Linked DNA regions of Homo sapiens: region 2 is linked to region 1. The links are contacts of gene promoters, found by promoter capture Hi-C in human tissues and cell types (Jung and others, 2019). All regions are on one chromosome and are shown on one strand. Each heading gives the region's core, a stretch centred on a gene start or on the middle of the fragment in contact. The rest is flanking DNA. Distances are from core to core; before and after follow the strand shown. Region 1 holds the start of CDADC1 (cytidine and dCMP deaminase domain containing 1). Region 2 has its middle 150 kb from the start of FNDC3A.

Evidence for each region. Contacts are between HindIII fragments. The study calls those that stand out against the background at their distance.
Region 2: a contact is called between a fragment that was not itself captured here and the fragment with the promoter of CDADC1 in region 1, in 3 of the 25 tissues and cell types used here (hippocampus, lymphoblastoid cells and spleen).

What each region holds. Positions count from the first base shown.
Region 1 is chr13:49,245,319-49,250,138 of GRCh38, forward strand. It overlaps CDADC1 (cytidine and dCMP deaminase domain containing 1), which reads left to right and starts at 2,607. Exons shown (of 10, transcript NM_030911.4): 1 at 2,607-2,801; 2 at 3,553-3,647. The coding sequence starts at 2,720. LOC105370203 (a long non-coding RNA gene) reads right to left here and starts at 2,522. Exons shown (of 2, transcript NR_135318.1): 1 at 2,317-2,522. RefSeq lists enhancers at 2,468-3,030, 2,500-2,729. The HindIII fragment of the contact is 6,098 bases long and covers 1-3,913 here.
Region 2 is chr13:48,825,883-48,831,079 of GRCh38, forward strand. No RefSeq gene overlaps it. Among named protein-coding and RNA genes, the nearest start is that of FNDC3A, 150 kb to the right of the region's middle. The HindIII fragment of the contact is 4,054 bases long and covers 1,821-5,197 here.

The DNA.
Region 1 (4,820 bases), core at 1,357-3,856:
TGATTGTTTGAAGGGCAGGGCAGATCTAGACTGCTGGGGATTAAAGATACACACACAAACACACATATAACATATATAGGTGTGTATGTATATATATATACATATAGTTATTTTGAGAGTTTAAGACTTAAAGAAAGTTGCAAAAATAATACAGAGTTCCTGTGTTACCCTTCACCCAGCTTCTGCAATAATAATGTCTTACCTATTCACAGCACTTTGGTAAAAGCAGGAAACTGATACTGGTAAAATACTGTTAATACAGGTATAGATCTTATTTGTGTTTTACTAGTTTTGAATGTACCACTTTGCATTTTTGGTGTATAGCTCTATGAATTTTATCACATGTATAGATATGAGTAACTGTCAACACAAAGAAACTCTGTCGTGTTACCTCTTAACAGTCAGACCCTTGTCCCAACCATAACATTTGGCAATCATGGATTTGTTCTTCAATGCTATAATTTTTCTTTGGCTATGAGAATGGTATCTAGATGGAATCATACAGTATACAACACTTTAAGACTGGCTTTTAAAAACTCACCACAATGCCCTTGAGATTCATTCAAGTTGTACGTATCAATAGCTCATTACTTTTTATGGCTGAGTAGTGTCCCATGGCATGGATATACTCCAGTTTGCTTTCTATTCATTCACTAAGGACTGTTTGGCTTGTTTACAGTTTTTTTGTTTTTTTGTTTTTGAGATGGAGTCTCACTCTGTCGCCCAGGCTGGAGTGCAGTGGTGCAATCTTGGCTCACTGCAACCTCTGCCTCCCGGGTTCAAGTGATTCTCCTGCCTAAGCCTCCTGAGTAGGTGGGACTACAGGTACATGCCACCACGCCTGGCTAATTTTTTGTATTTTTAGTAGAGACGGGGTTTCGCCATGTTGCCCAGGCTGATCTCAAACTCCTGACCTCATGATCCGCCCGCCTTGGCCTCCCAAAGTGCTGGGATTACAGGTGTGAGCCACCATGCCTGGCCTGTTTTCAGTTTTTGACTATTAAAAATAAAGCCACCATGACATTCATGTACAGAGTTTTGTTTGAACATAAGTTTTGGTTTGTCTAGGATAAATACCCAGGAGTGTGATTGCTGGGTGATATGATAAGCATATGTGCAACTTTATAAGAAACTGTCAAACTGTTTTCTAGAGTGGTTATGCCATTTTATAGTCCTACCAGCAATGTTTGAGAGATCCGGTTGCTCTGCATCCTCACTAGCATTTAGTGCTGTCAGTACTTGTTATTTTAGCCATTTAAATAGGTGTGTAGTAGAATCTCATTGTGGTTTTAATATACATTTCCCTAATGGCCAATGACACTGAACACTGTTTTACATGTTTATTTGCCATCTGTATATCTTCTTTGGTGAAATGACTATTCAAGTCTTTGATCCATTTTCTAACTGGACTGTTTACTTACTCTGAGTTTATATGGTTCTTTATATATTCTGGATATGAGTCCTTTGTTGGATACATGCTTTGCAAATATTTTCTCCTAGTCCATGGCCTGTCTTTAAACCTTAGTGTTAATTGCCATGAAGGCACTGTCAACAAAGTCTACACTTCAGGAAAGGTGCAGAATGGAGTTCTCTGGATATAGTCAAATCACCTGAAGAGCTTTACCCTCAGAACAGGCGAACTAGAAAAAATTCTACAAGCCAAAGAAATAAATAGCAAGCTGAAAGATAGATCTGAAGAAATTAGCCAGAATGTGGCTCAGAGAAACAAAATGATGCAATATTTTAAAAATAATAATTTAGAACCTCAGAAGGTTTAACCTATGCCTAATAGGAATTCCAGGAGGAGAGTCTAGAGTAATGTTGTCCAATACAGTAGTAGCCAATAGCCACATGTCACTACTTAAAATGTAAATTAATTAAAACTAAATGAAGTTAAAAATGCAGTTCCTTGGTTGTACTGGCCACATTTCAGATGCTCAATAGCCACATGTGGCTGGTGGCTACCATATTGGACAGTGCAGATATAGAATACTACAGGAAATCCTACTGGACAGTGCTGATCTAGGTCATAAAACAAGTCTGAACAAATTTCAAAGAACTGGTATGATACAGATGTTTTGTGGAAATAAACTAGACATTAGAAATTAAAAACAAAATAACTCCTACTGCCTCCTCTCACCTTTTTCCCCATTACAATTCCACCTCTTAATGTCTTCATGTTCTTGATGAGAAGCAGAACGTCCCTACTGTGTTCCATGGCACCAAGTTCCCCAGAACCCGCCAGTCTCTGATGACAGAACATCCTGGACCGCCCAGCTCCACACCCCAACCCAAGAAGTTCTCTAAAACACTGACCATGACAGCCTGGGGTAGGTTTCCACTTTAACATTCTGACCAAAATTCTCAACTCGATGCAGTCAGAGTCTGCGCAACCTGGGACCTCGAGCCAAGAAATCCTCAAGTGACCTTACTTGGCAAAACCAACAAAACAACCAAATACAGGTCTCAAGCGATTTACAGCTCGGTGCTTAACTCGGTCACCGGCCGAGGGGCAGCCCTCTGGCGCCAAAGCCCCGCCTCTCTATGACGTCACACGAGGAGCCCTGAAGTGGCGGTCAAGCTTGAGGCGTCATCTGGCTGCGCCTAGTGGGCCGTTGCCTTACAGTTGCTGAGAGGAGGCGAGAGGCGGGGGCGCTAGGGCCGAGATCATGTCTGACTGGGAGAGGTTTCCTTGGCAGCAGAGGACGCTAGGTTTGGGATGAAAGAAGCTGGGCAGATGCAAAATCTGGAGAGCGCGAGGGCCGGGCGGTCAGTCAGCACCCAGACTGGCAGCATGACCGGTGAGTGTCCGGGACCCTGCTCCCGCCACCCTACCTTTCGCTCTGCCCTGTGCGTCTCCCGTCATTGAACTCCAGATTCCTTGTCTGAGCCTCTTTGCCTCCCCTGCTGCTTTTGGATGTCTCCTGCCCGCCCTCTGCGTGTCCCCTCCGCGGTCGCCAGGACCAATCGGCTCGGTCGCACTGGCTTTTGAAGTCTCGCTTTTTACCCCTGTTAGCTACTTCTCACAGGACCTAGAGCTGGGGCCTCTGAGGTCAAAGAGCCTGAACATTTCCAAACGGCGCTTTTGCCTTGATTTCCAAATTAACCGCACGTGACGCTTTCCTGTATTTCGACTGCTTTACCGTCGAAGGTCAGCGCATTTTTCGGGTTGTGTTCTAATCGCTTTCCTTTTAGCAACGCCCCATCACAGTCCAAAGAAAAGCTTGCACCACGACGACGTCAGATGCGAAGACTTTTCACAGCTTGCTTTGGGTTGTCCCCCTCAGCTATGTGTATTAGCTGTACCGTTTTTTCCTGCAGGGTGAGGGCTGGAGAAAGAAGGCTCAACTTTTTAAGTGGAGAAGGAGGTAGCCACGACTAAGGCTGAAGCGTCTACTGCTAAGATACCTCTGACTCTCTTGTCCCCTATCTTTTTCTGTGCCTCTTGCGAAAGCAGCTGGGCTTAGGCTGCAGCACCTAAGTGGCATTGAGATTGGCTCCCTTTTTCACCATTAGTAACAAAGTTTAAAGTGTTTGTCGTCTCTTTTGTAGGTCAGATACCAAGGCTTTCTAAAGTCAACCTTTTCACTCTGCTCAGCCTCTGGATGGAGCTCTTTCCAGCAGAAGCCCAGCGGCAAAAATCTCAGGTATAATTTGTTTCATAGTTTTTCCCCTTAGAAAAGCAGTGGTTTAAAATCTGAGTTTATTGCTCCAGTTTCTGTCATACCTAAAACCAAACTTAACAAGGCTTAAGATTTAAAAAATATCTTTATTGATTAACATGACACTTTATAATTCCCAGCCGTAATAAGTCATCTTCCATTCTAAAAATACTTTCTGAGAATACCATGTTTATCGGGTACTAATGGTATTCATATGTCAGTTCGGCTAATAAGATTATTGTCTATACCACATAATTTCCCCCAATTATATATACTGTTGGTGTTTTATCTAGGTAGTTTACTCCTCTGCCACAGAAATATATAAATTGCCTGGAGATAGAGACCATGTCTTATTTTACCTAGCATATACCCTTTAGAGTCTAGCATTATATGAGTGCTAATTGATTAATGTTGGATGGAAGTAGTCTCTTTTTGGATCTTGAAAGACAGGATCAAAACAGATTAGAAATGGGCTGTGTGCAGTGGCTCACGCCTGTAATCCTAGCACTTTGTGAGGCTGAGGTGGGTGGATCACCTGAGGTCAGGAGTTCAAAACCAGCCTGGGCAACATAGTGAAACCCCATCTCTATTAAACATACAAAAATTAGCCAGGAGTGGTGGTATCCGCCTGTAGTCCCAGTTACGCGGGAGGCTGAGGCATGAGAATCGCTTGAACGAATCGTTGGAGGTTACAGTGAGCTGAGATTGCACCACTGCACTCCAGCCTGGGTGACAGAGCAAGACTCCATCTCAAAAAAAAAATCAGAAATGTATAGTAAGAATAATCATAAAAGCCAATATATTGGAATTGGAAGTATAAACATCCTGCGTCTTTTCTTTCTCCTACCCTTGGGGCAACAAGGGGCTAGGTTCTCATTTTCCTCCATGCTTGGAATGGCATGATGCTAGGTTCTCATCATTTCTGTTTGATAATTTTGGAAGCTTAGGGTGTTGGCATTAATTTTTATAGGGGGCCACGGCCATTGGAAAATAGTATTAGGTTAAGTTGAGCATTTAAGACTTTTTTTAAAACAGAGGTAAAATGAGGGGGGTGGGGCAGAAAATTACACATGGCTTCTCACCACTCTAACAACATTACTGTTAATATTTTGGTGCTTCCAATCTTAAGCATGAGGTTTTTTATTTTTACTCTTACAA
Region 2 (5,197 bases), core at 2,598-5,097, 420 kb before region 1:
AATGCTCCCATTCCAAACTGGAGAAACTGGCCAAAACAAAGGGGCTACAGGTACCTTGTAAGTCCAAAACCCAGCAGGGCAGTCATTAAATCTTAAAGCTCCAAAATAATCTCCTTAGGCTCCATGTCTCGCATCCAGGGCATGCTGATACCATGGGGTAGGTGCCAAGGACTTGGGCAGCTCCACCTGCCCCTGTGGCTCTGCAGGGTACAACCCCCACAGATGCTTTCATGGGCCAGCTTTGAGTGCCTGCAGCCTTTCCAGACACATAGTGCAAGCTGTTGGGGAATCTACCATTCTGGGGTCTGGAGAACAGTGGCCCTCTTCTCACAGCTCCACTAGGTGGTGCCCCAGTAAGGATTCTGTGTGGGGGCTCTAACCCCACATTTTTCCCGCCACACTGCCCTAGTAAAGATTCTCCATGGTGGCTCTACCCCTGCAGCAGATCTGCCTGGACATCCAAGCATTTCCATACATCATCTGAAATCTAGGTTGAGGCTTCCAAACCGCAGCTCTTGCCTTCTGCACATCTGCAGGCCAAACACCACATGGAAGCCACCAAGGGTTGGAAGCTTGGGGCTTGCACTATCTGAAGTAATGGCCTGAGCTCTACCTTGGTCCCTTTTAACCACAGCTGGAGCTGAGGTGGCTGGGATGCAGGATGCCATGTTCCAAGGCAGCACAGAGTAGCAGGGCCCTGTGCCTGGTCCATAAAACCATTTTTCTCTACTAGGCCTCCAGGCCTGTGATGGTAGGGGCTGCCACTAGAGTCTCTGAAATGCCTTGGAGGCATTTTCCCCATTGTGTTGGCTATTAACATTTGGCTCTTCTTATGCAAGTTTCTGTAGCCTTGAATTCCTCCCAAGAAAACGGATTGTTCCTTTCCACCACATGGTTGGGCTGCAAATTTTCTAAACTTTTATGCTCTGCTTCCCTTTTAAATATAAGTTCTAATTTCAGGTCATTTTTTGTTTATGCAAATGAGAATAGGCTTTTAGAAGCAGCCAGGCCACTGCTTGAATGCTTTGTTGCTTAGAAATTTATTCTGCCAGATATCCTAAATCATCTCTCTCAAGTTCAAAGTTCCATAGATCCCTAGAGCAGAGCTGCTAATCTCTTTTCTAAAGTATAGCAAGAGTGACCTTTATTCCAGTTCCCAACAAGTTCCTCATCTCCATCTGAGACAACCTCAGCCTGGACTTCACTATCCATATCACAATCAGCATTTTGGTCACAACCATTCAACAGGTGTCTAGGAAGTTTCAGACTTTGCTGTATCTTCCTGTCTTCTTCTGAGCTCTCCAAACTGTTCCAGTCTCTGCCTATTATCCAGTTCCAAAGTCGTTTCCACATTTTCAAGTATCTTTATAGCAATACCCCACTTCTGGTACCAATTTTCTAAATGAGTCCATTCTCACACTGCTATAAAGAACTACCTGAGACTGGATAATTTATGAAAAAAAGAGGTTTAACTGACTCACAGTTCCACAGGCTATACAGGAAGCGTGGCTGGGAGGCCTCAGAAAACTTACAGTCATGGTGGAAGGAGAAGGGGAAGCAAGTACATCTTATCATGGTGGAGCAGGAGAGAGAGGGCAAAGAGGGAAGTGCTACACACTTTTAAACAACCAGATTTCATGAGAACTCATTCACTATCACAAGAATAGCAAGTGGGAAATCTGCCCCATGATTCAATCAGCGCCTGCCAGGTCCCTACCCCAACACTGGGTATTAGAATTCAATATGAGATTTGGGAGGGGACACAGCCAAACCACGTTACTTAGGGTAAGTCTAGGCTGCTGATACAATGAGAGACATTGATACAATGGCTTAAGGAACAAAGAAGTTGCTTTCTCTTTTGTATAACAGTCCCAGGTGATGTCCTAGGCTGACAGGCAGCTCTCTTTGATGAAGTCCTTCAGGGAACCAGGTTCTTTCCATTACCATTGCCTCATCATTCAACAGAGCGTTGTCACCTACCATAGGGGTGAAACAGGGGCACCACTGTGACCAGGTTACTACTGACAGAATGAAGGAAGGGCATGTAGAATACTTATCTACTGCTTTAGATGCTGGCCAGGAATTGACAATCATAATTTCCGCTCACATTCCACTGTAACCCACAATATACTCATATCTAACTGCATGGGAGGCTGGGAAAGGTATTTCAGCTATCTTTACTAAAGATGAGTCTACCCAACCATAAGAACAAAAAAAAAAAAAAGAAGAATGAATGATTTGGGTGGCTAGAGCACAGTCTTTGGCATAACCTCTTGGAGAAACAGCAATCAGAATGATGTAAGAAAGTTGTATATCATGTAAGGAAGAAATCACATCAGAAGAAAATAAGTATTGTGTTTGCCATGGAAGTGATTAGACTAGTTCTATGTGGCTCTAGGGGATTGAATTAAGACAAATAGGAAAAGGGCTTTCTAATATATTAATATCATAATATAAAAGGACCTCCTTCTAGAGTGGAAATTCCCCTTGCTAGAGAATTTTTAGCAGAAACTGGAAGACCTTTGTACTTCCTTTAGGGGTTTTAGCATTTCTTCAAGCATTCTGAATGGCCAAGTTAGATCACTAATGCTGTCTTTCAGCACAGAGATTCTGTGATTCTATCTAAACTTGTGTTTATGGGTCATAGGGTAAGAAAAGGAAATCCCAAAATTTCTTAGGTGCCTACTGTATACAAGTCCTCACAACAATCTTGTGAGGAGGCACTATTCACATATTGCTGATGCTCTGAAGGGTCCACGGTCATTGTCTAAGACTTCAGAGCTATTAAGTGGCATTGCTGGTATAATCACCATCAGTCTGATTGCTAAATCCATGATATTTCTACCATGTTGTTGCCTCCCAGAAAGAAGGTCAAGAAAAAATTAAACATTCCCTCTTGTTTTATCATTCCCCTTCATGCTCCCCAAGTCCTTTATGTTATCAGGGCTGACTGCCTGGATGGGACTGGCTGTTCTGCAGAATTTAGCACAACAAGAGAGGATCACTTCAGCATTCAGTCCCTTTTCTAGCTCTTTCTACTGGAGCAAATGACTGATTTGTCACCCAAGCTTTTCTTGGTCCAGAGGCAGAGTTGCCTATTCATTTGGAAGAAGCTTCTGCTTCTCTCATTCCTTCCCTAAGAAGAATGCAGGGATTCTCCTGTAACCCCAGCCCACATAATAAGGCAGTGAATCATTTTCTGCTGTTACCTGACAGTCTGCTGCCTAAACCTCTTCCATCCTGGTTCTGAGTGTTGTAGGGGGGGAGAAAAGGTTTAATTTGAAATTAATTCTTAAGCCCTTTTGCATTGAAATGTGGATGTCAAAAGTGAATTAATCATCACCAAAGCTTCCATCATAGAAAATTTGCCCGATTCCCTCCACAGAGAGGATGACTCACATAAGCACCTGTTTTGTCTCCTTAGTAACTGGTCTCTTAGATTTCCCTCTTGTATTTGCATGCAGGCGAGCATAGCAAATTGACTGGGGGAAGGGAAGAGGTTCACAGCATACAGAATGTGCTCTGGGCAGAATGTCACCTGTAACACTGTTTTCCAACCATCTCGTGCTTTATGTACTCATTTTGTGTCTCTGTTATAACCCCAGCATTGATTCAGTCGCAAACTCAGAGTGCAGAGATAAGTCTGGAAAATTACTAATGGCCTCAGGGAAGGTTTGGTGACATACAATAGAAATGAATACTGGTGATATTCTGTATCCATCTGTATATTAAAAATGTGTCTTTCTTGGCTTAAACCTTTGCTGCAATAGGAGGCAGGCACACAACTCTATCAAGAGAGAGGTGAAAAGGGTAGAAGAAGAGAGGTTCAATTAAACCACTTATCTGGCTTTAGCACAGGAAGTAGTAATATTTCAAAAGTTGGGTTTATGTGGTTCTATGTGGTTTTAGTTCTCTTTTTCACAAGAGAGATAAAATGCCCTCTCTTATTGTCATTGTGGTAACATTTTTAAAAGATATTTGGATCAAGAGCTGGAGACCCATGTCTCAATACGTTCTCAGCCATAAATGAGCCAGTACCTGTGAATAAATCACTTAGATTCTCTGTGTTTCCTCCTGGAAACTGAGGGATCCAACTACATGACAATATTATCCCTTCCAATTATGAAATTGGAACTCTGTTTTCTGAGTAGCTTAAAGTAGCTTAACACTTAAACTTATTGGGTCAGAGATCATCCAAAATGAAAAGTTACTATTCTTTTCTTTATTTTACAAACGACGTCCAGAGAGATGAAGTTACTTGCCTAAGATCACATAAAATTCAAGTATCTTCACACACTTATTTATTTGGTTTCTGTTTTTATTATAATGCAACGTGCTATTGTTGCAGTCAAATAGCTCTACCAGACTTGTTATGAAAAATAGTGGTTCCCAATCTGCTTTTATGTCCCAAAGGCAGCTACTTTAAAGCAGGTTTTAGCTGATTCTTTTGGTTATTTACCTCAATATCTCTAAACATTATATTGTTTCAACTTTAGGAATGACCTCAACAACAAAACATAAAGTTTTTATCCCCCCCTTCTCCCTGTGTAGCTGTATCATAATTTTATTTAGTTCAGTTACTGGTATTTATTTGATGACATAAATATTATTCACAGTTGAGCTATGCAGAATATTATGATTAATTTCCCTTTCTGTTTTCTTTTCCCTGGAGTTAATAATTATCACATTTTCATTTTGCTTAATTTTCTATGAATAATCACAAATTCAACCCAAACTCCCTATAGTTGTGTCTTATAAAGGCTTAACTCATTTTATTGCTTTTCATTTTTGTTGTGCTTCACAGATGTTGTGCTTCACAGATATTTTGCTTTCTGCAAATTGAAATTTTGTGGCAACCTGCATTGAACAAGTCTATTGGTGCCATTTTTCTAACAGCATGTGCTCATTTTGTGTCTCTGTGGCACATTTTGGTCATTCTCACAATCTTTCAAAGTTTTTCATTATTATTGTGTCTGTTGTGGTGATCTGTGATCAGTGATCTTAGGTGTTACTATTGTAATTGTTTTGGGGGCCCACAAACCATGCCCGCAAATGACAGTGAGTTTAATCAATAGATGTTGCATGTGTACCGACTGCTCCGCTCACTGGCCACTCCCCTGTCTCTCTCCCTCTCCTCCGTGGGCCTCCTTACCCTTTTATTTATTTATTTATTTTAGATGGAGTCTCGCTCTGTCAT